Linked DNA regions of Homo sapiens: region 2 is linked to region 1. The links are contacts of gene promoters, found by promoter capture Hi-C in blood cells and fetal thymus (Javierre and others, 2016). All regions are on one chromosome and are shown on one strand. The core of a region is centred on a gene start or on the middle of the fragment in contact, and the rest is flanking DNA. Distances in the headings are between cores, read along the strand shown. Region 1 holds the start of APP (amyloid beta precursor protein). Region 2 overlaps BACH1 (BTB domain and CNC homolog 1).

Region 1 (4,872 bases), core at 1,996-4,495:
AGAGCACACTTCGAGTACTGTAAAAAGACACAGACAAGCCAGAACACATTTAGAGAATGGCCAAGGTGTGGAAGGAACCAGAAACCATGCCATTATGCAACTGTTGAAGGAAGTGCCTGTTTTACCTTGTGAAGAGAAGACTCTAGAGGAAGAAGTAGCATGAAAACCGCTGGCAAATTTGTAAAGATCTGAAGTGTGGAAAAGAATTATTCTGCTTGGTCACTGGGGATACAAGGATATCTGAGTGGGAGTTTAAAGGCGGGGGATGTGAGCTTTAAATGGGATAAGAACATTCTAGTAACCAGAAATGCCCAAAGATAGAATGCACAGTCTGGAGAGCCAGTGAATATCTCACAAATGGAGACACTTGAAACTAGGATGGGGATGCTGTTGTAGGAATTCCAGCAGACAAGTGGTTGTTGGTTCCTTCCCCAACTTTGTAGGGTTATAACTAGGGATGTTCCTGCGTTTTCTGCTTGGAGGATCTGCAAGACACCTCAGGGCAGGAAATGGCATTAAATGCAGAACAGAGCTAGTGGCTGAAAAGCAAAAAGCCATCAGGATCTCTGAGTAGTGAAGGAACCAGAGAACATGCAGGCAATGTCCATCATTCTGACGCAATCAGCAGCATAATCATCTTCCCCCAGGAACATCTTGACCAGGGAATGTGTCAGTGTGGTGAATTTCAACAGTGGAAAGAGAAACTGCTAAATCTAAGAACTTTAATTTTTATAGATTATGATCTCATCTCTACAATTTTGAATTTCATGCTCAATAAAAGTTCCTTACTCTCTTTTTTTTTTTTTGAGACGGAGTCTCGCTCTGTCGCCCAGGCTGGAGTGCAGTGGCGCGATCTCGGCTCACTTCAAGCTCAGCCTCCCGGGTTCACGCCATTCTCCTGCCTCAGCCTCCCCAGTAGCTGGGACTACAGGCGCCCGCCACGACGCCCGGCTAATTTTTTGTATTTTTAGTAGAGACGGGGTTTCACCGTGTTAGCCAGGATGGTGTTGATCTCCTGACCTCGTGATCCGCCCGCCTCAGCCTCCCAAAGAAAAGTCCCTCACTCTTAAAGTTGCCTCCTCCTTCCCAGGGCTGGCTTCATGGGCATGCAACCCTGGAGAGTCTCACAGGCCCTGCGGTGGGAGGAGCCCCATGCTTGGTTTAACGCTCTGCCATTGCCATCTTAAAATTCTTAATTTAATTTTTTTTCTTTTTTTTGAGGTGGAGTCTCGCTCTGTCGCCCAGGCTGGAGTGCAATGGCACAATCTTGGCTCACTGCAACCTCCGCCTCCCAGGTTCAAGCGATTCTCCTGCCTCAGCCTCTGGAGTAGCTGGGATTACAGGCAGGAGTAACCACGCTCGGCTAATTTTTGCATTTTTAGTAGAGATGGGGGTTTCACCATGTTGGCCAGGCTGGTCTAGAACTCCTGACCTCAGGTGATCTGCCCACCTGGGCCTCCTAAAGTGCTGGGATTACAGGCATGAGCCACCAGGCCCGGCCTTAAAATTCTTAATAATGTAACAAAGGGTCTCACGTTTGCATTTTGCAGTGGACTCTGCAAGATTTGTAGCTTTGGACCACGTTTCTCTTTGCATTCAGATACCTTCTTTTTTGCCTTATTTGCTCATGCAGACCCGGAACAAATACGGAATTGCGGTGGGTAAATGTGGTGCAGAAAGTGAACAACTGGGTTTGTCCTGTCACTTTAGGCTTTTCCCTGCTGTCCCAGCTTCATGTCACTTACTTGCTATTAGATTTGGGAGTTCATTAGCTTCATTTTCCTGATGTATAAATAGGAATAATAGTAACAGCCTCTTTGGCTTTTGTAGGAAGTAAATGACATGAAGCGTATAAACAAATACTGCATGACAATAAATATTTGTCCTTATTTGTTGAGGACATCCAAAGGACATTCAGGGGCAAAAGTAATCCAAGAGTCAAGACTGAATGCCTAGTGCGGGAAAAGACACACAAGACAACATTTAGGGGAGCTGGTACAGAAATGACTTCCCAGGAAGGAAGTCTGTACCCCGCTGGCTGAGCCATCCTTCCCGGGCCTAGGCACCCTTGTCAGCGCAATGAGCAAGGGAGAGAAGGCAGGCTGCAGTGCAGCCCTCAGAAGGGCCAGAGCACTCCCTGGCTTCAGTCCTTCGCTCCAAGCCCTGTGTGGAGTGGGCTGTGGCTTGGTAACTAAATGCTACTTCAGGTCAAGAGCAGGGGATATATCTGGGCAGTTCTAGAGCATTCTAAACTATCTGGACACTAACTGGACAGTGGACGGTTTGTGTTTAATCCAGGAGAAAGTGGCATGGCAGAAGGTTCATTTCTATAATTCAGGACAGACACAATGAAGAACAAGGGCAGCGTTTGAGGTCAGAAGTCCTCATTTACGGGGGTCGAATACGAATGATCTCTCCTAATTTTTCCTTCTTCCCCAACTCAGATGGATGTTACATCCCTGCTTAACAACAAAAAAAGACCCCCCGCCCCGCAAAATCCACACTGACCACCCCCTTTAACAAAACAAAACCAAAAACAAACAAAAATATAAGAAAGAAACAAAACCCAAGCCCAGAACCCTGCTTTCAAGAAGAAGTAAATGGGTTGGCCGCTTCTTTGCCAGGTCCTGCGCCTTGCTCCTTTGGTTCGTTCTAAAGATAGAAATTCCAGGTTGCTCGTGCCTGCTTTTGACGTTGGGGGTTAAAAAATGAGGTTTTGCTGTCTCAACAAGCAAAGAAAATCCTATTTCCTTTAAGCTTCACTCGTTCTCATTCTCTTCCAGAAACGCCTGCCCCACCTCTCCAAACCGAGAGAAAAAACGAAATGCGGATAAAAACGCACCCTAGCAGCAGTCCTTTATACGACACCCCCGGGAGGCCTGCGGGGTCGGATGATTCAAGCTCACGGGGACGAGCAGGAGCGCTCTCGACTTTTCTAGAGCCTCAGCGTCCTAGGACTCACCTTTCCCTGATCCTGCACCGTCCCTCTCCTGGCCCCAGACTCTCCCTCCCACTGTTCACGAAGCCCAGGTGGGCCGTCGGCCGGGGAGCGGAGGGGGCGCGTGGGGTGCAGGCGGCGCCAAGGGCGCGTGCACCTGTGGGCGCGGGGCGCGAGGGCCCCTCCCGGCGCGAGCGGGCGCAGTTCCCCGGCGGCGCCGCTAGGGGTCTCTCTCGGGTGCCGAGCGGGGTGGGCCGGATCAGCTGACTCGCCTGGCTCTGAGCCCCGCCGCCGCGCTCGGGCTCCGTCAGTTTCCTCGGCAGCGGTAGGCGAGAGCACGCGGAGGAGCGTGCGCGGGGGCCCCGGGAGACGGCGGCGGTGGCGGCGCGGGCAGAGCAAGGACGCGGCGGATCCCACTCGCACAGCAGCGCACTCGGTGCCCCGCGCAGGGTCGCGATGCTGCCCGGTTTGGCACTGCTCCTGCTGGCCGCCTGGACGGCTCGGGCGCTGGAGGTGGGTGCCGCGCCTCGGAAGGCGGGGGGAGGCTGCACGGTGGGGACGCGATACCCCCCAAGACCTTAACCCAAGTCTTTAATGCAGAGAAGCCGGGGGTCCGTCAATGGGACCCCTCTCCTCTCCGCCCCCGCTTGCGGACGTCCAGCGCATCCCCGCTTTCGGCCCAGCCCTGCCCCAGGGAGTCGCGCTCCGGCCCGCTGAGAGGGAGCGGGCGAGGCGCTGGTCTCCCTGGTTCCGCGCCAGCCCGGGGCGAGAAGGGTAGGGGGCGACCCTGAGCCCAGACCCCGACTTAGTCCCTGCCTTGGAAGCGGGGGTCGGGGGAGGCGAGAGACATTCAGACAGGGGGGAAGGGGGAAGGAGCACGTGGGGAAAACCGAAAACGCAGCGTCCCTAAAGCCAGTCCTTCGCTCTTGAATCGTTGCCCTTTCCTTTCTCTTGGGCCCTGGGGAGGAGGAGGAGGAGTCGGGACAGCCCAGGAAGCTAGGAGCCCCTCGCTTTTCCCTGCGTTCTCCGCCTCGTTTCACCTTCCTCTCTCACCCCCATCCCCCTTCCTTGCTCCAACCTCTTTTCGCGGCTGCTGGCGGCGGCAGCCTGGGTGCGACCCTAGCCCGAGCCGGCGTCGGGGTCGCGCACCGCCTTCCACAGGCAAACTTTGTGCATGTCCGCGTCTCCCTTTTGTGTAACTTGCGAGAAATGGGAGGGGTCGGAGACCCATAGCCACCCCGCGCCTTCCCCAAGTCTGGACGTCCCGGGAGTTCGCTCGCACCCTAAGCTCTGTCTGAGAGGCAGAAGGTCCGCGGGAACAAAAGCCGCGACACCCCGCCCTCGCCGTGGGCCGAGCCGCGTTAGTCTCAGTGCGCCACCGAGGCTCCCGCCCGGCTCCCTTCCCGGGGCTGCGCGTCCGCCTGGGAGGGGGCAGAGACGCTGCCGGGGCTTCTGGCGGAGCCTCGGGGCCCCTCTGCTTCCCACCCTCGGATCACCTCCGAGGCTTAATTCTGTGCTGGGCTGTAAAGTCCTTGGCGGGGAGGAAATAAGGCGGAGAGTGGGATGTGCGTCTGGAAAGGGCAGTGGCGGATGGTGGGGAGGCACGGGCTCTGTCCTGTGCATCCAAGGAGGCGTTTGTCTGATTAAGGCGCGGCCTCTTCCCTGGCAGCTCTGGGGACTCTGGTTTAGTTCCCCTGGGGGCACAGGATGCTGGGGAGGGTCCGAAGGGTCTTTTTTTTAGGGTGCAGATAAAAGGATCGAATTGAGTGAAGATTAAGACGGAGAAGATGGCGCCTCTGCAGTGCAGCAAAGAAAAGCTGTGTGGAGGCTGCAGCCTAGTGAAATCCACCCACCACTAGGTGTATAACAAGTCTTCCCCATTCATCCAACTCTCGAACATTCAGCTAACGCCTGTGCACAATGACTGTTTTTCT
Region 2 (4,797 bases), core at 1,695-4,194, 3.1 Mb before region 1:
GGAGTTCGAGACCAGCCTGGCCAACATGGTGAAACCCATCTCTACTAAAACACAAAAATTAGCTGGGCATGGTGGGGGGTGCCCCATAATTCCAGCTACTACGGAGGCTGAGGCAGAAGAATTGCTTGAACCCAAGAGGCGGAGGTTGCAGTGACCCGAGATCGCGCCACTGCACTCCAGCCTGAGCGACAGAGTGATACTCCATCTCAAAAAAAAAAAAAAGAAAAAAAAAACTGGGAATAACTAGTTTATTACAAAAATATTAGTTTGAACGATGACTTTCCTAAGGCACTGCAAAAAGTGTTTACATTTATTTTTCAAATAACATGATCTGCACAAAATTTCAGCTGCATTAATGTAACATTTTCTAAATTGTGCCCGTACTGAGAAGGAACCAGCTGCCAGCCAATTTCACTGCATGCCCACTGTGTTTCTACACTGGTCATTAACAACCAAGATTCTGGCTACCACTATTTCTTCTTCCTCACGTTTGCTTCAGGGCAGTTTTTTATTATCCTATGAATATTTGAATATTTTCTAACCTGTCCCTGATCCTAAATAAAACAAAGAACCTGTTCTAGAGGAGTGATATTCAAAGTATTAGACATATAAGACATTTAACATCTAGAAAACCAAATTATATTTTGCTCAATTCAATTCTAATCCAATTATGGGTAAAAATAAGTCACAAGACAAGTTTTATGTCTATCTTAGGAGATGAACTAGAATTACTTAATTCCAGCTGCCTTCTCAATAATCACACCAATGATAAAAACAGAAAGTAGAAAGCTAAATAATCAAAAGAATTTCAACTCAGTGCACACTTACAAGGTACCACACACGATGTTCTCTCCTTCAATCTGTTAAACATTCCCAAGTTTCAAAATCACAGAACTAGAATGAACGCATATCATACCACCCAGTTCAGCAACCAACAGTTTATTAAAGAAACACAGCCAAGGCACATTCAGAGTGCCATAGGAGATAAAACAGAAAGACACAGATTCTCACCATCAGGAAACTTACAATCTGGCTGAAAGAATGGTCAAAATAACACAACCTTTCTGAATTACTAACAGGTACAAAAAGCTATACGATAAATATGTCCATTGTATTCATATCCATTTCATGGATAATTTTTCTGTATTAGTACAGGCATATCATCTAAAGAAAACATAATACTTAGAAGAAACTAATTAGCTTACAAATTTACATTCTAAATGTTTCCAACAAACTGGATAGGGCCCAGGAATATGTACTGAGAAACTAGTTCTGTTCTGGTATTAACAAGAAGGGAGGGGTGGACAGGTTACTAAAGCTGCCAGGCCACAATGTCAACTACAACGTGGAAAAGACTAGCCAAAGAATGGCAAGTGTTTTTATTTCGTAAAAGCCAGTTTCAATTAACTGGTTAGTGACTACCTCAAGCACTCCGCTGAGACTGTTAAGATTCCTTTAAGTAAAAAGCTATGTCCTGTGTTCGTTGCCCTCAGAAGTTGGATGTATGTTTGAGATGGTGCTACTGACTTAACATAAGAGTGTTCCCCGGGTTGTTTTTCCAGTCTCACTTGTGATCAATGCCGGCAATTCAGCTCTCAACAGCTATAAAACACTACTGTGTAACTAAGTACTTCCCTGATTCTGAACAACAGATAATAACACCTAACACTTGATGTTTCTTATAAAGCTGGCACTGTTCTAACCACTTACCCCGTATTAACGCATATAATCCTCACAACAACCTCTCTGATACAGATTCTACTATCACCACCCCTGTTTTACAGAGGAAACAATGAGGCACTAGTTACCAGGTAGAAGAGCTTGCCCAAGGCTTTAAAGTGGGTGACACAACCAGAACCTGACCTTAAGCAGTCTGGCTCCAGAACTACTTTTTAACCATTCTGCTTACTGCTTCTTTGTCAACTGTACAGTGATCAAACCCAGACTTCAGTTATGTTAGTGCACTGTGTAAGCCAGGTGCCTGGGCTTCAGGAGAGTGTAAGTCAATGTTTTAGCTGCAGTCCTGAAATGTTTACTCCCTCCAAGGGGCACGGATTCTGGCGAATTGCACTCAAATTACCCATACCTTGGCCATCGGTACATTACCTCATTTGACATATATTTTAAATCAAAACAATCTCAAAAATCATCGTTCCACCACATAAAATAAACCCTCTGTCTAGAATGCTCAGGGAATGCAGGTTTTAGGGTTAAGACAATTCTCTCATTAACAGAACATTAGTCAGAAAATTAGAAGAGAGGTGGTGATTCCTAAAACGTAAGTCATGGAGAGATCAGCACTATGAAGAGAAAATCTGACAAGTGGTAATTTTAACGGGCTTTGCAACTGTTATTCTGAGCATCACCTCTCACAGTACAGGGGTGTAGAAGGCACATGGCACATGAGATTTAACTGAATGGTAAATACTAACCACCCTCACCGCCGCCACCCGCCCCCAGCACTAGTAGGAGGTTGATATTCTGAATAAATGCCACTTCCCAAGGGATTTACTGAATATGTCGTCTTATTAATCTTAAGAGAACATAAGCTTGGCAAAAAACAAACAAAAAAAAACAGACTTCAAGGAGTAACAGTACAAACTAATTTTTACATATGCTATACATATTACACTCCAATGTGTAGATTATCTTCAAGTATTTCCACTGCACCCTTTTACACATCACTGCACTTCAGATCACATACATTAAACCAACCGCTGGGCTTGTCTCCAAATTCAAAATACAGGTTATCAAATGAAATTCTGTATTTTTTGTATTTCCATCCCCAGTATCAACAATGTAACAAGAAATTTACACTCAAGCTTCTAAAGTAAAACATACAGACAATAGAACTACCTATAAAATAAAACTTAAATGGAATATTAACAGTCTGAAAGAACTCTTAGGAGGAAACCGTAAGTTAAAAGAAAAAGCATTCCGGTTGTTGAAAGAATGTTACTGACAGTGGTTAACAGGCTATGTTCCCCCAGCAACAAAGGGGTGGAGGACATGCACGCGCATTATATAATATGAATACACGATTGTTAGTCTGCATCTTTAAGCTTAATGTCTTTCTTATATTAAAGTTTTTAAAAGTTTTAATATATTCCTTCCAAATGAACCTCCTTGCACCCCACCTTGGAGGCCCTAATACTTACAAAATTCATGATTTCTAATCTCCTCTAGTCCCAGACTTAAAGGAACAAAATAAATCGTTTTTCCTAATACAGAATATTTTAAATGAACTACCATTAATAGGAATCATCATTTTTTTCACCAAAGGGCCAAATTCCCAGCTCTACATTTCCCATTCCTAAACTTTGTTTGCAATGAGGACTCATATAAATATTTGGGTTGTGTGCTCCTTTTTAAAGCAAGAAGCAATGACACCAGGTGTAAAGGCAGTGGTGTCATATAATCAAGACAATGAGACAGGTATTTACGGTTGGCTATTTATTAAACAGCTCTTTCGAGACTTAACCCAATGAGACCTATTAATTCCACCCATATGGTGCTTACCCTCCTCTGACTCCTGAAACTTCTTGTGTATGCATGAAAAGCCAAGGGCCATGAGAAACAGAGCAAGTCCCTTCTGTGTACTCATAACCAAATTTTTATGACGCACAAATTAAGCTCACTGCTTGAAACTTATAGACCACGTAACAGAAACCACAAAAAGGAAACTAAGTCCAGTAAGAGTAGTAAATATTTTTGTTACAATATTTTTTATTGGGTTACCCCTAGCTGCAAATTTCTTCCCCAGTTTTAGCTCTCTCCAGCGCAAATTTATTCTCAGACAGCAGGTCACGAGGCTCCGTCTTTAAACCCGCCTCAGTGCTATTGGCCACTGCCTAAGAGTGCTCTTCCACTTCACCCACTGATAACCTGTATCAAAACAACCCCAGCTGGGTCCCCTTCAGCCTTCTGAAGCAACCTCTCTAGAGCGCTCTTTGGCCTTTTATAGTGGAGGCATGTGATGAGAGTATTTGCACCAGCTGTTTCTAATTACCTCTCAAGCTGGGGCGAATGACTCAGCAACCCAACTTTTTAGAGAGTCATCCTACCTTGTTAACCAACCAACATACCGAACAACAGTAAACCACTTGACAGAAACATAGGTTAAACAACAATACAAGAATCACTACGCCAAAGTCACCCTACTCCAAGCTGACTCACCGGGAGCCTTTCTTCCCTAAGCTTCTTCAAGATGTCCAAAGGCAGAAGTGGCAAGTGCCTTCAAGCCCAGCCCAGCCCTTGCACCACTACCCAAAGACCAGGAAGAAGCAAGCCGACCTCTTCCCATTTCTCTGCTTGACTATGTGAAGCGCTCAAGTGCTCTGCCACTAACACATCTGGGATTTCCACCCTTTATCCTTCTGAACTGCATTCAATGCAGACCCTCTGATGTAAAGGGTGTTCAAATACATGATCAAATTCCCATAGCATCATCCATGGGTAACAGTCCCTACCCCTACACAATTCTCCAAAAAGCAAAGCATCCTACAAAACATTCTTTGTTCCTCCAAGCATGACATTGTAGCTCGTTTTCCTCATACACGTTCTTTCACAATTACTACTACACTTTACCTGGAATCAGCACAAGTTTAACGCAGAAGCCTCACTCCATAAAAGCATTCCGCACAATTCTACTCAATGACATGAAACTGCCGTGTAAGAATGAGAAAGCAACGGCACTCGTGTTACATTACACGAGCACAAAGCTGGTGTCTCCAGAATCAACGCCCACTCTCACCATATTGTGCGAGGCTTAATTACAACGCGTGGGCAAAACTCCAA

What was found. The method cuts DNA at HindIII sites, captures the fragments that hold promoters and counts their contacts. A CHiCAGO score of 5 or more calls a contact.
Region 2: a contact is called between a fragment that was not itself captured here and the fragment with the promoter of APP in region 1, in 1 of 17 cell types (fetal thymus). The highest score is 7.8, in fetal thymus.

Annotation. Positions count from the first base shown.
Region 1 is chr21:26,169,143-26,174,014 of GRCh38, reverse strand. It overlaps APP (amyloid beta precursor protein), which reads left to right and starts at 3,245. Exons shown (of 18, transcript NM_000484.4): 1 at 3,245-3,451. The coding sequence starts at 3,395. APP-DT (APP divergent transcript) reads right to left here and starts at 3,148. Exons shown (of 4, transcript NR_186396.1): 1 at 2,963-3,148. RefSeq lists silencers at 2,893-3,722, 4,223-4,492 and enhancers at 3,510-4,034, 4,533-4,742. The HindIII fragment of the contact is 2,642 bases long and covers 2,760-4,872 here.
Region 2 is chr21:29,299,555-29,304,351 of GRCh38, reverse strand. All of the region lies in intron 1 of BACH1 (BTB domain and CNC homolog 1), which reads right to left. Among named protein-coding and RNA genes, the nearest start is that of BACH1, 3.0 kb to the right of the region's middle. RefSeq lists a silencer at 1,750-2,044 and an enhancer at 3,656-3,765. The HindIII fragment of the contact is 240 bases long and covers 2,825-3,064 here.